2 separate regions of the Homo sapiens genome follow, and region 2 is linked to region 1. The links are contacts of gene promoters, found by promoter capture Hi-C in blood cells and fetal thymus (Javierre and others, 2016). All regions are on one chromosome and are shown on one strand. Each heading gives the region's core, a stretch centred on a gene start or on the middle of the fragment in contact. The rest is flanking DNA. Distances are from core to core; before and after follow the strand shown.

Region 1 (2,936 bases), core at 137-2,636:
GAAAGAGGGCTAAGATTCAAGATCAGTGTTGGAACTAGTAACAAATATTACATTTCATGATAGAGGTGCAAAAATAATGAACCACAGGTATATTCATGATCTAATGTTATGTAACCTATTACCCCCAAATTTTAGTGGTTTAAGACAAGAGTAAGCATTTATTATATCTTATGGTTTCTGTGATTCAGGAATCCAGAAGCAGCTTGATTGGATAGCTCTGGGTCGGGGCTATCATGAAATTCAGTCAGATGTTGGCTGAAGCTACAGTCATCTGAAGGCTTGACTTGGTTGCAGGGTCTGTTCCCAAGATAGATCACTCACATAACTAGCAAGTTGTTGCTATTAGCAGGAGGCCTCAGTTCTTCCCACACAGAGCTAAGATTCAAGACTTCTATGCAAGTCAAGAAATACACACACACACACACACACACACACACACACACACACATAGTGAAGTCTGAATATAAATTAGGAACTGAGCTCTTCTTCTCTCTCCATAGGTATATACATATACATACATATACCTATATACACATAGATATCCTGGAGAATTATTTAGAGAGAGCAATATTTCTACATCAGCTCCCTAGGCCAAGTAAGGTGACCCAATGGACTTCACTTTTCTAAAAAGTGCAGTTATACTTATGTATCTTCTCTTACTATTCATCAAAATACCGACAATATTTTGGGCTGAAATGTTAATAATATCTGTATGAACCTCTGCTTCAAAAAATAATCCAAGGGATCCTTGAGTATTTTTAAAACATGGCATCTGGTTTCCCCAAAATGAGCAACATAAGAAAGCAAAGAATACAAAAGAACAAGGCAGAAGCCATAGTGTATGTCTTTATGATGTAGTTTTCTGCTGTACAGTACTGATCACATGGTCAGCTGTGATTCATTTTGGAAGGGGAGTATGAACAGGTGTGAATACCAGTAGGTAAGGATTCCTAGAGATGTTATCAACATCTCAGCCCGAAATATTGTCGATATTTTGGTGAATATTAAGAGAAGATACATAAGTGTAACTGGACTTTTTAGAAAAGTGAAGTCCATTGGGTCACCTTACTTGGCCTAGGGAGCTGATGTAAAAATACTACTCTCTTTAAATAATCCCCCAGGATATCTATATATATACACACACACACACGGAGAGGAAGTGCTCAGTTCCTAATTTATATTCAGACTTCACTATATATATGTGTGTGTGTGTGTGTATTTCTTGAGTTGTATAGAATACGTACTTATGAATAACAAACTTGACCAATTTTCCTACAGACATAGACTTCTTGCATTTAGCAGTATCACTCACCTCTTACTCCATCATTTCTTCAATAACTCCATCAACACTGAACCTTCTAACTCTAACATGCTACGATTCACTACTGTGAAAAAAAAGCTGATGTCATAAACACATTGTGTTCCAGTATCACTAAGGGCCATACCCCATTCTTAGGTAATCCCTGAGGTCCTACTAGCCTTGCTAGCCTCAAAGGAGTCACTTGGAGTATAAAGAGGGGGAGGAGACTGAACAAAGTCCTGGAGCTATAGTATATTTTTTCATTGTTAATCCTTGGCAAAGAAGTAGGTAGTTTGGAGGTGGAAGTAGGCCATGATTACCTTTAAAATAATCTACTATTATTTGTGTCTTTCCTGAATATCATAGCACCTTCTTGTCACAAATGCTTAGGGGAAAGAAAATCATCCAATATACCCCATATCCCACTTACCAACATCTCTACAGTAAAATGAGACCCAAGAGCATGATTTCCTTAACTAGCTATCAAGCAACTACCTCCAACAAACAGCAGTTATCATTAATATGTTCATGCTATTTTCATTTGTGAGGTCTGTAATCCATCAGAACAACCTGACAGTGATTAAGTAAAATCAAAGAGACTTTGTAAACATCTGTGTGCTTTTATTGTTACAAATGCTTCATTATAAAAAGATCAGTCAAAAGCATAAAAGTACCCTGGTTTAAACTTTTTCTGTGTTTGAATGAGAATGTTTCTCTTGGAACATGCTCATATCAGGCTTCCACTTGGCAAAATCACGAATTGGCTGATGTTGTTTTAGAGGCTTTCTCATGTCCCCTTCCAAACATCACTCTTCTCCTTCTGTGGACCCCTTTCTGTTATCTAGGAGCCCCTCATGCTGCCTTCCACATTCTGCCTACTGCACAGTCATGTTCTGGACCCCTCAGAATCCCCCTCTACCATTACAATATGTTTTTCCTAAGACTTACTTGCATTGAAAGGCTTGCCAGGGAAGTGACTAATCTTATCATCTTGTACTAAATGTTAAATTAATCCTCATTCTCTCTAGAATTGTTTTCTAAGCAGGGATTCCTAGAGATGCTATCAATATCTCAGCCTGAAATTGCATAGGTATTCTGGTGAATAGCAAGAGAAAATAACGTGAGTATAACTGGACCTTTTAGAAAAGTGAAGTCTATTAGGTCACCTTAGTTGGCCTAGGGAGTTGATGTAGGAATGCTCCTCTCCCTGAAATAATCTTCCAGGAGAGGAATGTATCCCCAAATAGCAAGTGAATATCCAATGGCTTCTCATTGCACTTAAACTCTATATTCCTTTTTATGACCAAAAAGGCCTGGCTTCTCCCTAACTGTCTCTTCCTTACACATTACACCTCTTCCTTTTGTATGTGAATGTGCCAAGCTACCACCTCATTTCTACCTTAAGGCCTGAAGTGTTATGTTCCAGTTCTTGGCATGCAAATTACTCTTCATCACTTGTTTCCCGACACAAATGCCACCTTTCCAGACAATCTAAAGTAACCTCAAAATCATTTGCTCGCACATCACTTTGTTTTATTTCTCCTGGTATTAATCACTATGTGAAATTTTCTGGTTCATATTATTTGTCACCTGCTTCTTCCAGGCCTCCTCTTACTTCATTGTCTATCATGTTCAT
Region 2 (2,760 bases), core at 102-2,601, 830 kb before region 1:
GTAACAGTAAATGACAGGAAAAATCAGGATGTAAAAAAGCTTATTCTCAGGCAAGAGACCCTGAGCTTTGCCCTCCCAGGCCTACCGCAGGATGTTATTTGTAAAATGCTTTCTTCTCAGCTATACTCACAAAAGTGATTACCAGCAGCAGCACCTTTACAGCCATTGCTGAAAATCATGCTCACCAGGCAAATCTGGTAGAAATGTGGACAAAACTATTGGTAATTAATGCATTTGTTTTTGAAGTTCGTTGGTAGGGGGTCAGAGGGCAGATGGGGGGAGCTTACCTGTAAGGAAAACCCAGAACTTTTTTGTAATCTCCACAGCTCAGCTCTAAAGTAGCAGAGGTACATGTACCTTGCTTTTAGCAATAAAATTGATAAGCATTTCATTATTTTCTAGAGACCACAATTTAAAACCCCTTGCAGTGAATCCTTTTAGAAATCAAATTATCAACTTTTAATGAATTACTTTGTAGGTCCAGATTTCCATCCGGTATCTGTTGTATATCACAAGCAAGATATAACTATAACACAGTTTGGTTGCTCTAGAGGCCTCTCATTTCTCTCCCACCCTTTTACCAGGAAGAATTTAGCCACCAATACCCAATAAACACAACATACAATTGCACAAAACATTAAGTACTCTTATTTGACTTAGTGAACTTAAAAGTGTTTCTTTTTTTACAAAAACTGTGGATATAACTAATAATTCAGTAATTATCATTATTATATTTTATCTTATAGCTGCAAATGTTGTTGCAAATATAATGTTAAAAATGGCAAGTGCTGCATGGCCTGAATATTTCCATCAAATTTCATTGTACACAGTAGAAAGAAGTCATTATTTCTATTATTTTTATACTTGACTTGGTACTATGAGCCACCTGGATTACTTTTTTTAAAAGTGACTTTCAATGGAGACTCTGCTAAGAATATAATTCAATCTTAAGGACAGAGTTAATCCTTTTTTGACAGAGTTGCATAAGTTGTTCAAATCCATACACTGAAACCTAAACTGAAGGACGGTGCAGTTAAAGCTCTTGATTGTAATCAACCTAGTGATGTTGAAAAGCAGTGCTAATATGCAAGGAATTAAAACAGAAAGGCCTATTAAGGATAGTCAAGTTTCACCAGAAATAAAATTAGGTTAGTTGAGAGTAAGAAATTGTCTCAATAAATGTAAAGTAACTAAAGCAGTGCCTAGTAGTTTTTATAAACGAAAATGGAAAAGGCATAGCCCCCACACAATAAGCTATGCTCTGGAAAGAAAAGAATGCCAAATAGAAAGGGGAAAAGACTGTTGATGTCTTTCAAGAACAAATGAAACCATTAACAGAATAACACCTGTGGTTTGGATCAACAAGACTTATTCTAAAATAAGGTGAATATTCTTTGATTTCTTAACTGACTGTTATATCAACTGAGCAACTTTATACACAGCAAGGAAATAAACCACTTTTCCCTCATCATGAAAGTTCTGCAACAAGGGAAATAGTTCTAATTCATCAAAATCTCAGTAGAAGCAGGGCTTATCAGCCCATTTTATAGCCAGAATATTAACAGTATATTATTAACAGAATATTAACAGAATATTAATCCAGGTGTCATTTTTTTTTGGCCCCCACATACCATGCAAGACATCAAGTCCCTGAAAAGTCCCCAGTACATTTTCCGGGAGTCTCCAGAAGATACCATGTATAAACTAAGTAAACTGTTTTGAGATATGTGCTTACTACTGTTTCCACTGGGATGCTAACACATTTACTAACCTTCACTTGTGCTTCCGTTAGATACTGAAGTGTATACCAGACACCACTGTTCCTGTCAGAAACTAACACTGCCTCCTTTCAGGAACCTGAAGTTCCCTCCATGCCCTATCACTGCTCTGCCAGGTGCTGGCTACACCCAACGTACTGAATTCCTCAGTGCGCCAAATAAGCATGGTAAAGGGACATATGTCTCCGACTGTTTGCATTACATTCTATTTGATGCATCTTCAGATCTGCCCTTGCCCTAATGTGTTACAGAACTTTTAATAAAACAGTGCTTTCTTTCTTCACCTCCTCCATTACTTCTCCCCCTCCGCTTCCCTCTCTCCTTGTCCTTTCATTTATCCTTCCCCTTCTCCTCCCGCTTCTTCTTCTCCTCCTTCAATTTATAGCACTCTCTCCATGACGATTATCTGGATGTTGATCTAAGTGTCAAGCACCATACAGTACTCAGACTTGCTCCTGTATCCCAGGTTAGCTCTATTTTATAGTTTCCACATCTTTGCTTAAATTTCTCATGTCTTCATGAATGTTTTCCACCTTTTCCATTACAAACTTCCGTGTCATAAGCTGCCTATGGAAAGGGTGACACGACAAAGAACTGCAGGTGCCCTCTCAGTCCTGAGAGTAGACACTAGCCAAAAGCTAGCAAAAAGCAGATTCCTCGGTAATACAGTTGCAAGAAATATAATCTTTCCAGCAATCTGAAAGAGGTTGGAAGTAAATTCTTCCCCATTCAAGCCTCCAACCCAATACCTTTATTGCTACCTGCTTAGATCCTGAGGCAGAGAACCTAGGCTCAGACACTTGATCCACAGAAACGGTGAGATAACAAATGAGTGTTGTTTTGAGTAACTAAGTTTGAGTAATGTGTTATACAATAGAAAACTAATGAAGCTTTCTAAAACTGCGTTAGTGGTTAAGATGCTGGAATCTGGGAACAACTGCCTGGGTTCACAATTCAGTTCCACTACCCTGAAAAGTTACTT

What was found. Contacts are between HindIII fragments. The CHiCAGO score rates a contact against its expected background, and 5 or more counts as called.
Region 2: a fragment that was not itself captured here is called in contact with the fragment with the promoter of SLC44A5 in region 1 in 1 of 17 cell types (M2 macrophages); the score reaches 5.3 in M2 macrophages.

What each region holds. Positions count from the first base shown.
Region 1 is chr1:75,609,728-75,612,663 of GRCh38, forward strand. SLC44A5 (solute carrier family 44 member 5) reads right to left here and starts at 1,387. Exons shown (of 24, transcript NM_001130058.2): 1 at 1,313-1,387. The HindIII fragment of the contact is 10,824 bases long and covers 1-2,936 here.
Region 2 is chr1:74,780,774-74,783,533 of GRCh38, forward strand. No RefSeq gene overlaps it. Among named protein-coding and RNA genes, the nearest start is that of TYW3, 49 kb to the left of the region's middle. The HindIII fragment of the contact is 2,629 bases long and covers 38-2,666 here.